Linked DNA regions of Homo sapiens: region 1 is linked to region 2. The links are contacts of gene promoters, found by promoter capture Hi-C in blood cells and fetal thymus (Javierre and others, 2016). All regions are on one chromosome and are shown on one strand. Each heading gives the region's core, a stretch centred on a gene start or on the middle of the fragment in contact. The rest is flanking DNA. Distances are from core to core; before and after follow the strand shown.

What was found. The method cuts DNA at HindIII sites, captures the fragments that hold promoters and counts their contacts. A CHiCAGO score of 5 or more calls a contact.
Region 1: a contact is called between the fragment with the promoter of PIGC here and the fragment with the promoter of RC3H1 in region 2, in 1 of 17 cell types (total B cells). The highest score is 5.2, in total B cells.

The regions. Positions count from the first base shown.
Region 1 is chr1:172,441,335-172,446,709 of GRCh38, reverse strand. PIGC (phosphatidylinositol glycan anchor biosynthesis class C) reads left to right here and starts at 2,641. Exons shown (of 2, transcript NM_153747.2): 1 at 2,641-2,722; 2 at 3,880-5,253. The coding sequence starts at 4,088. The coding sequence ends at 4,981. C1orf105 (chromosome 1 open reading frame 105) reads right to left here. Exons shown (of 7, transcript NM_139240.4): 2 at 1,552-1,637. RefSeq lists enhancers at 2,253-2,562, 2,286-2,809. The HindIII fragment of the contact is 3,601 bases long and covers 2,047-5,375 here.
Region 2 is chr1:174,018,552-174,023,914 of GRCh38, reverse strand. It overlaps RC3H1 (ring finger and CCCH-type domains 1), which reads left to right and starts at 1,558. Exons shown (of 20, transcript NM_172071.4): 1 at 1,558-1,819. RC3H1-DT (RC3H1 divergent transcript) reads right to left here and starts at 1,432. Exons shown (of 2, transcript NR_187284.1): 1 at 1,275-1,432; 2 at 725-1,132. RefSeq lists silencers at 1,323-1,572, 1,683-2,002 and enhancers at 2,209-2,748, 2,813-2,932. The HindIII fragment of the contact is 5,810 bases long and covers 1-4,384 here.

The DNA.
Region 1 (5,375 bases), core at 1,392-3,891, 1.6 Mb after region 2:
ACCCTCTGCCAAAGGCTTGTGTAATTAGAGACCAAGGGAGCTGGGGGCAAGAGAGCCATGCACAAGGATACTTTGCTCTTCGCTGCTGGGGCAGGTCTAATGGGCATGGGGGTAGTATGGGATGGTGGGATATTACCCTATTAGATCAAACACTAGCAATTTCACATAAAACATCCAGATTTCTAGTACTGTTAGAAGACCCAGTGGATCTGGCCTCTGGACTCACATGCCTGCAGGTAACACTGCTGGCGTGGGGGTGGGCTGAAGCGGGGAGGTGATTTCCCATTCATTGCAGTCCTGTTTGGCCAGCTTTACTCATTATGCCCCTCATCTGACTGTCATGGGCCTGTGAGTTTGTGTCCCACCCTCAATTAAAATATGCTAGACTGTCCTTACTCGTGCTGATCCATGCAGTGTTAACAACTCTTAATAAGCACTCTATCACTTAGTACTTTTGTTTCTTAAATAGGCCTTTGAGTTTATTGAACCTCTGATAATCTGCTTTCGTTATATTCAAAATTATGTAAAAATAACACAACTGAATAACGAGCACTTGAAAGCACTTGTGAATTTTGTTCTGAAAATACTAAAACCGTCTACCTATTTACTGAGAATGAGATTTTTTTTTAATGTACAGTAGACAAAGCAAAGGTACATGTTACTAAAGTGGGGATGTGGAGACAGTGATGGGAATTTGCTTATGAAGTCACTTATCCATGGGCAGGAGGGTACATGGTAGTTATCAACAGGAGGAGAAACTCTTTTTGGGGAGTCTGGCTTTTCTAACGAGCTGTTTCGAATGCCAAGGAGTCATTCCTTTTTAGTCTGTCGTGTGCCTTTGGAATGGCCTCTATGCCTGCCCTTTCTCTTTCTCTCTGCCCTCTTTCTGGTTTCTCTCATTCACCCCAACACTACCTCACACCTACCCTTCTGTCCATGTCCCCTTCCCAGAGTGGGGTTTATCACTACACTTAGGAACCATTTCATCAAAAATGGAGAAGGGACACGGTAACCCAATTATTTCAAGAGACAGTTGAAATGCTCCCTAGATATGTAATTCCTGCAATTTTGAAAAATAGATTTATGTGTCATATAGTAGTTTGTTTGGAAGGAGTAGGACTAACAGGAATGTAGGAGGGTGCCTCAAAGTTACATACAGAGTTACTATTCTATAAAGATGGGAACTTACTGTTCTAGACTTTTGATGGTAAAAATGTGAAAATTTCAGACTACAGCAGTGGAGAAAATGTGGGGTGAGAAAGAGGATGGAAGTGTTTTGAGAGACAGTGTCTAGGGGAAAAATTATCTTATACTGTTGAGTGGTAGTGGTGGAGAGGGAAAAATTTTGAGATCTCATCTCCTCTAGCCAGGCCTATACTCAGTGATCATTTTTTTCTGAGAAACCCGGATTATTTCTATTTTTAAAGCACTTGACTTGAGTTTCTCAATGGATCAAATGTGCCCTCTGATAATTGTCCCCATCCCTTAAGAAGAAATCATCTTCTGTGAGATGTTTCGTAAAACTTTTGCCCTCGGTGGCTGAGAGGTTACCTTCTGGGAAGGCTGAGCACTAATGGCTTGTTTACAAGGCTGGCCTCACTAAGCCAAGGAATCTTGTCAAATTTTGGAACAGAAGCCTAGAGGGAAATAGAGAACATTTTACAGAATATATCACACTTAAACATTGCTATCATTACGATGGCCAAAGTCAGCTAATAGCAGCCATATAGTGAACACTTTACAAACCATTTTTATATTTAACTCTTTAACCATCCTATAAAGTAGCCAAGTGCAAATAATGTCATCTCCATTTTACTGATGAAGAAATCAAAGCTCAGGTAGTGTGATTTGCCTTGAGTCACTGAGCTAGTAAATGGGTCATGTTTTCTGACTTTTATTTCCACTGTATCCTGTGTTTTACTACATCCCTTTGTTTCTTTATTACTTCCTTCTGTTTATATATCCTTTAATATTTCCATGAACTCAGTTTAATTAGCAATCTTGTCCTCACTTCTTTTAGGAGGTAAAGAGGAAAAAAACCAAGCTTTGAAGCTATAGACAACTGGATATTGATCTCTGTTCATCTACTTCCCAGGTGCCTGTCTTTGGACAAATACAACTTATCTGAGCCTTAGATTTGTCCTCTTTGAGGGGGGAGATGATATAATCAGTGTAAAGGTCAATGCACCAAAAAAGAGAGTTTCATGAGAGCAGCAATTTTTGTGTGTTTCATTCACGGCTGTATCATGAGCACCCCAAGCATGGCTTGTTACATGCAGGCATTCAATCAGTATCTGTGGAATGAACGCATGGATGCACGGGAAGTCCCAGCTGAGGGCCTGACTTAATAAAGGAGCGCAACAAAAGCGGCCATTATCTCTCACCTACTGGCCCAGCCTCTTTCCTTGTCCTCTCTTGCCTTACCCAGTCCTTCAGATGGCACATCCCATCTTTCAATAGGGGATTGCTGGGGATTTGCCTTCCTAGGCTCAGAGCATTCGGGTTTGGGCCAGTCTCCAGGAGAGGAGACCGGAGGTCCTTCGAGCAGCCAGGAGGGGGCAGCAGTCACGTCGCGATGGTTCCAGCCGGGGAAGGGTGCCCTCGCTAAGGAGATTGCGGCGGACCCGGAAGTGCTTGGCCACAGTCGCAGCCCCGGCGCCCCGAAGCGGGAAAAAGGCTGGGTGCCGCCGTCCCCCAGCTGCGCAACCCTAGGAACTCTCGGGTAGGTGGGTTCCGTGTAACGGTCAGTGTTTCCGGGGCTCCTTTTCCTCTGCTGCCTCCCGCAGACCCAAGGCTGAGTGAGGGGCGGCGGCGGAAGTGGGAGGCCCACCCAAAAAGCCAAATGGGGTGCCAGAAGAGTGAAGGCGCACCCTGGGGTCACCCTACCCTACCCCGTCCCCTCCCAGCCCCACTCTGCGGGCGGGCGCTGCCCTTTTGGGCGTCGCAGACCCTCCAACCCCGGCGGCGGCCTTAAGATTCCCGGGCTGGGATCCCTGCTGCAGAGGGGGTAACGGTGTCTGGCTTGCCAAGCAATATTTGTTGTGGTCTATCATGGAAGAAATAAAGTCGGGCAATATGAATTTTTTTTTTCTCAAATTTGCCGGATGGCTGTGGTGTTTCTGACTCTTAGTTTTCTCATTGTGAAAAAGGAATGATTATCTTCTTCGATCCTCTCAAGAGTTTCCTTGTTTTGAGTAGATTGATAGCTCTTTAAAGGATGCTAAGCTCAGCTAATGGAAGAAGAGTCTAGTTTCTTTGAGGCTTTGATTTTGGTTAAACTATAGAGCTCATACCTTTCTGTATGGTGCAGCTTACTATTGTCTTTGGATTGGTAACTTAAAAAATACAAATAACATGCCTTTGAGAACCAATAAAAACTATGGATATTATCCCTATAAATTTACACAAATCCAGATATAAGCATGCAATGTGATATACCTAAGGGATATGTGAACCACTGAGTTAAGAACTGCTTTAGAGGGAGATACAATGTGAGACACAGGCTTTGGGATAAGACTTTGGTTTGAATCCTGGCTCTGCTCTGTTACCTTAGGGCAAAGTTACTTAAGCATCTTGAATCTCAGCTTTTTTACCAAAGCAGGACTAATACTAACTTACAAGGTGGTGAGGATTAAGTGAAAGAAGATACATAAGGCACTTAGCACATAGTAGGTACTCAATAAGCGATAGCTAACAGATGTCTATTATTATTCAAGGAATTATAATTTTCAAATCTGAAATGCAGTTTTAATGTCCCATAAGGTGACTACCACATACATTTTTCTCAGACTTTTAGTAAACTGAGTTGATTTGACTTTATCTCAGTACTACTCTTGACCTTTCACAACTTTCGTAGGTTCACAGTCTCTCTTTTTCTAGGAACTTGGCTGTGTTGTCCTGCCTCAGAGACAAATTCATCTATTGTAGGCCTAGCCCCTGCCTTTGAAAACAAGGAAAGGTTGGTAGAACATCAACACAGCATGGAATTTCCAGGGAGGTCTCATTTCAAAACTTCATAAAGAACAAGAACCACCTGGACTTCTGTGAGGGCGATGATTAAACTGGCCTGAGTTTGAATGAAAGGATAATGTATGCTCAACCTGTGACTAACACCAAGGAGGTCAAGTGGCAGAAGGTCTTGTATGAGCGACAGCCCTTTCCTGATAACTATGTGGACCGGCGATTCCTGGAAGAGCTCCGGAAAAACATCCATGCTCGGAAATACCAATATTGGGCTGTGGTATTTGAGTCCAGTGTGGTGATCCAGCAGCTGTGCAGTGTTTGTGTTTTTGTGGTTATCTGGTGGTATATGGATGAGGGTCTTCTGGCCCCCCATTGGCTTTTAGGGACTGGTCTGGCTTCTTCACTGATTGGGTATGTTTTGTTTGATCTCATTGATGGAGGTGAAGGGCGGAAGAAGAGTGGGCAGACCCGGTGGGCTGACCTGAAGAGTGCCCTAGTCTTCATTACTTTCACTTATGGGTTTTCACCAGTGCTGAAGACCCTTACAGAGTCTGTCAGCACTGACACCATCTATGCCATGTCAGTCTTCATGCTGTTAGGCCATCTCATCTTTTTTGACTATGGTGCCAATGCTGCCATTGTATCCAGCACACTATCCTTGAACATGGCCATCTTTGCTTCTGTATGCTTGGCATCACGTCTTCCCCGGTCCCTGCATGCCTTCATCATGGTGACATTTGCCATTCAGATTTTTGCCCTGTGGCCCATGTTGCAGAAGAAACTAAAGGCATGTACTCCCCGGAGCTATGTGGGGGTCACACTGCTTTTTGCATTTTCAGCCGTGGGAGGCCTACTGTCCATTAGTGCTGTGGGAGCCGTACTCTTTGCCCTTCTGCTGATGTCTATCTCATGTCTGTGTCCATTCTACCTCATTCGCTTGCAGCTTTTTAAAGAAAACATTCATGGGCCTTGGGATGAAGCTGAAATCAAGGAAGACTTGTCCAGGTTCCTCAGTTAAATTAGGACATCCATTACATTATTAAAGCAAGCTGATAGATTAGCCTCCTAACTAGTATAGAACTTAAAGACAGAGTTCCATTCTGGAAGCAGCATGTCATTGTGGTAAGAGAATAGAGATCAAAACCAAAAAAAATGAACCAAAGGCTTGGGTGGTGAGGGTGCTTATCCTTTCTGTTATTTTGTAGATGAAAAAACTTTCTGGGGACCTCTTGAATTACATGCTGTAACATATGAAGTGATGTGGTTTCTATTAAAAAAATAACACATCCATCAAGTTGTCTCATGATTTTTCCATAAACAGGAGGCAGACAGAGGGGCATGAAGAGTGAAGTAAGTGTGTGTGTGTGTGTGTGTGTGTGTGTGTGTGTGTGTGTAAAGTCACTTCTTTCTAC
Region 2 (5,363 bases), core at 309-2,808:
GTAAAAATCATACTGCTTAAGGGAACCTTTAAGGAGCCTTACCAACTGTGGTATAACTATTAATAGTTCAAAGAAATTACATTATCTAGGTTACTTGCAATGGAAGTTGAGTTACTCGCTTCACCTAAACAAGGAAGTTGGCATGTTTGCCTAGCAACAGTCGCTAAAACCTTCTGTTGTGGAAGGTTCCCTAGGAGTGAGAAGAAGGGAGGAGGAGGAAAAGCAGGAGGAGCAGATTAATCTGTTTTTCCTAGCAGGGTACAGAGGCCTGGTCTGAGAAGGGAAAGGCTTTAAGAGATCCCTTTAGATTGGCACATGCTAACCTAAATCCCCCTGTGGTAGCTAGAAATTCACTCTCTGTAGGACTGGGGTTACTATTTAGTAGGCTGAAAAGACGATTACAGATTAAACCCAGTTCAGAGGCAGCAAATTCCAATCAGTGGAAAGACAACAATAGGTCTTCTAAACAGAAGCTGAGATCTCAGTAGCAGGAGGGTGCTAACAACTAAAAAGAATTCTTCTCTGCCAAGAGTTTAGGAAGGTGTGTGATATTTCTTAAAAATAATACAAAAACACTATCTGTGATAGCGATTCCAATGTATCAAGTTAAAGGCAGAAGTGCTTCTCTTGGGGTACTGTGATGTAAACAGTGAAGAAAGGACAGAAAAACATAATCTCTGCTCTCTTGGTCAAATCCTGAAGCAAAAAAGGTGATAGCGCCGAGTAGAGGTATTAAATGGTTGTTTATTTGGGGACTCTCTCTCTCCTCTATTCTAGATGATTTATTTTGAAATTAGTACTGTATGGTGTTACAATAATCCCATTTCTTCCCCTTCTCAAAAGCGAGGGTTTGGCTAAAATGAATTGTCTGAAGGGACCTCCCATTCCCCAAAACCAAAACGGCACCTTTTCCACAAGGGACAAGAAACTTTTAAAGAGTCGCAAGGTTAGATTTCAGGAGCCCTTCTATGGGCCATATCTTTTCCTGTCGTCCCCAAATAGCTCTTATTGTTCACACAGCCCAGGAGAGACGTTTTGGAGTAGCGTGTCCGGGCCTTTTGGGCTGTTTCACAGCCTTAGGAGGCTGAACTCCCAGAGGGGTGACGAGGACAAAGCTGATGAGATCCAGAACCTGGATAATATGGAAGAAGAAAAATGGGGTGGGGGACAAGACGTGAAAAAGAAACAAGAGTTGGGGGACAACGGCTGAGAAAGCCGAAAGAGTAGACGTAGTGTGGGGTTCGATGGAAACGAAAGAAATTCCCCCAATTTACTCTCGCCATCTGGCCACTGGCCCGCTGAGCCCAAAGGCGCCGGTGCGGGAGGGCAGACCGGACCGAGGGACCGGTTCATCTGCTCAGGGCGTGTGAGACTTTCGGTCGCGGCGGAGAGCGTCGCCGGTCTCCCTCCGGGCGTTGGTGGCCGGTGACTCAGAGCTTTGCTCCCGCGCCCGCCCCTCCCCTCCGCCCGCCCCGCCTCCTGAGGGAGGATCCTCGCCCTCGTCTCCGCCCCAGTCTCCGGGGCGGGCCGGAGCCTGAGGAAGAGGAAGGGGACGAGGACAACGAGCGACTGGGCGGCGGAGGACGAGGAGGAGGAAGAGGAGGCCGAGCAACAAGATGGCCCCTGCTGCAGGAGCAGCCTCAGCAGCAGCAGGTGGGAGGCCGGAGGCGGTGCTGGCGGTGGCGGCGGCAGCCGTGGCCCGGCGGCCTGGGACAGAATCAGAGTCAACGGTGGCCTCGGCGGCGGCGGCGGCTGCCGCGGCGGTGGCGACGGCCGCGGGGACTCGGAGCTGAGAGGAGCTGCTGCTCGGACCAGCGCGGTGAGCGAGCGGCGGGCGGCGACTTGGGGAGCGGGGCTGCCGCGGCCGGGGCCTCAGTCGGGAACAATAGGCAGCTGTGGTCGGGAAGGGTTTGTCCTCGCCCGCCCTCTGCTCCTCCGCGGCAGCGGCAGCCCGGCCGGCCCCAGGCTCCTCAGGGCCCCCGCCGGCTGTTCTGGGGCTTGTCAGTGGCCGGCGTCCTTTAGGCCTCAGGCCTCTGCATGCCGCCTGTAGGGCCTGTCGGGGTAGGTAGGCCGAGAGGAGGACGAAGGGAGGCTCGGACGAGAGGGAGGGGGCGAAAGGGCTACCTGGCTCCTGTGGTACTCCCAGGGCCTGGGCCAGGCGGGGAATGCGCACGGGAACTGCTTTTTGGACCCCTAGTCTGTGGGGGTGGGGGAGGGCGAAGGCGTCTGTAAACAGGCGCCGCCTCGGCCTCCCAGCACCTCAGGGCTGCTTCCTCCCCCAGCCCCTGAAGCGCTCCCCTTCTTTGGCCAAGTGGATTTCACGGTGTCTGTTTCCCTGAAGTCCCTGGAGATCTAGCCTGGTAGTCTTCTCCCTGCTGGCGATGGGAAAATTGTGTGTGTGCAGGTGTCTTTAAAAAAAAAAAACAAAAAACTTAAATGCAACAAAAACATATAAAATGTGGTTATCGGTAAAGGATGGAGTGGTAAGGGATGCGCCTCTCTAAACATCTCTAAGTATCAGTTCTATAAACATCAGTTATGCCCGCATCCCAGGTGAGAGTGGATTGAAACAAGGGCTCTTTTGGAACAGTAATAACACAACTCTTGACATACCAGAATAGCCTATGAAACTGGAAACAAACACTGGCAACGCGGAGACAAACTGTAATGTTTAAAGAGGACTTTTATTCCAGCTAGGCGTTTTGAATTACTAACATGCAGTATAAGAAGCAACATTAACTAGCATAAAGTGGACCTCAGGAAGCACTTCGAAAGGAGACAGGTGGTTCATCTCCGGCCATAGAGCTTCTTGTGCCTTGTCTCGTGTTTCAGTAATTTTTCCTGAAATTGTTCAAGACCAGTCTTTTCTCTGAGTTTGAAATTTGATTTCGTTTTTGTTTTGTTTTGCGACGGAGTCTTGCTCTGTCACCCAGGCTGGATTGCAGTGGCACAATCTCGGCTCACTACAGCCTCCACCTCCCGGATTCAAGCGATTCTCCTGCCTCACCATCCGGAGTAGCTGGGATTACAGGCGCCCGCCACCATGCCCGGCTGATTTTTGTATTTTTAGTAGAGACGGGGTTTCACCATGTTGGCCAGGCTGGTCTGGAACTCCTGACCTCAAGTCATCTGCCCTCCTCCGCCTCCCAAAGTGCTTGGATTACAGGCGTGAGCCACCTCGCTCAGCCTTAAACTTAATTTTTCAAGGCTTCTACCACATTTTCTTACAAGTGAGGGAAAAGGTAGATTTATTTCTAAAGTACTTTCTACCTAGGTATGCAGAAATTTATATTAAAATCGCTTGGATACATCCAAGGAGATTGCTTTTCACTTGTTAACATTCAACTGCAAGGCCTAAGGGTTATAGGTTGTGTTCTTTTCAGCACTGACCTGTGCTGAAAAGATGCCAGTTAATATCTTTCACCTCTTCTAAGGGTAAATTTCTAAGTAGAATTGGTCCAAGTCTGTTCTAATTAAAAACATTATAAGCAGCACTAGTCTAGTTCTTAGTTCTTCCACAACAATTGACACTGAATAGATTAGCAATTGAATAAACATAAAGGTTGAATTTTCTTGTTTAGGATTTGAAGTATAGTGAATGAATATCAATACTGACCTTCATTTTATGCTTAGCATAAATAATGTTGGAGATGTTTTGATTTTTTGAATGATGGAGAAATAACAACTTTCTATGGCTCCTGATGTTGTGACTTTTTTGCAGATATTTCAGAAAGGACACCGTTTTTCAGGTGCTCAAATCTGTGATTTTTTTTTTTTTTCTGTGCTAATTTTGTTAGGTCAGCACAGATTCCAAGTAAAGTCTGTGTTATAATGATACTTAAATTTATGTATGGCCCTAAACCTATTAGAACAATTGTAGTAATTTATAGGTTGTAAGTTTTAAGTGGTTCATGTGCTGTGTTATGAAAACAATCTCACCGTGTTATGTCAAGGGCAGATTTACCTCATATTTAATATCATTTTCCTGAAAATAAATATTTTTAAGTGGTAAGGTTTTGTATTTCAGATTGGTTATTGACCCAGCAATTTATGGGCTTAGTCTGGGTCCGTATTTCTGTTCAATAGGAAAAAAATTTAGGGAATTGTTTTTATTTATTTTGTGTCAAAACAGTTTTAAGTTTTGACACAAACTCAACTGTCCCTTCTTCAGTATCAATACTTATTACTTAAGTTCACATTTTCTCAGGTAATAAAAATTTACTTCTAAGAAGTTTTGGAACCAGAGCTTAAGAATTAGATTTATATTTTCTTGGTAATATTAAAAGTTAATATATGCTTGATTTATTTGAAGAAATAAAAAAGGGTAATTTGTACACAACGCCTTTCAGAACATATTTGTTGAATGAATAAAAATATTTAAGCTTCCTCATTATGCTGCAGTATTAGTTCTGTTGTCCTCATTTTTTCATATGAAGAATGTGAAGCTAAGAGTAGCTATGTAACCAGCAAAAAGATCACATAATTAATAGGTAAAAGAGCTTACTCAGACTCAGATCTTGTGACACAAATTAGATTCTTTGCCACTACCACATGTGTCACAGTTAAACTTTGAAGCATCTTCTGTGTTGACAGATTCCTTTTTTTGCCTGTGAACTTACCCTATTATCATTATTTGTATCCTGTCAGATATCTACTTGTAAGACCAAGAAAGTATTTGTTCATGTGAATCACAAAAGAAACACTTAAATTTTTGTTTTTAGCATATCTGAATGCTATAAAATATAAAAACTCATACTGTTTACATAGGACAGATTTATCATACTGCTGTAATTGTTTTCATGGTTAATTTGTTACATAGGCAATTACTAAATTGTGCCTTTGAAATACTTTATAAATTTTTTTAAATAATTAAAGATATTCAATGATGTTAAAGTTGGGTCAGCTAATATTTGAAGTTCTTAATTTATAATTTTTTTTCTTTAAGCCATAGATAATTTAGAATTCTGCAGTATTTTTCATCTCCAGATCTTAGGGCTTGAAATGGATTCTGATGGGTCTAATCAGTCCACTCTTGCATATATCTTGAAAATGGTCAGCATCCAACAAAGTGAAGAATAAACTGATAAATGATCCCTGTTTGGTGAACACCTCAGATCAGGATGTTCCTTGGCAGGGTATTCTGACCTGGTTTAGCTTTGGCCCCGTCTGTGCTCAGGGTTCAGGTATTCTGCAGGATTGGGTTCAGAGGGATTAAAATTCTCAGATTGGCCTGTATCAAAACAGTCACAGATTTTGGTCAGCCTTTTCCCAGAACCGTCTCCAAGATTTTTTCTTTTGTGTAATTCTGGAATCTAGGCTGGATTTGGACTAGCTTTAGAGGTTATGATAAAAGATTAATTTTG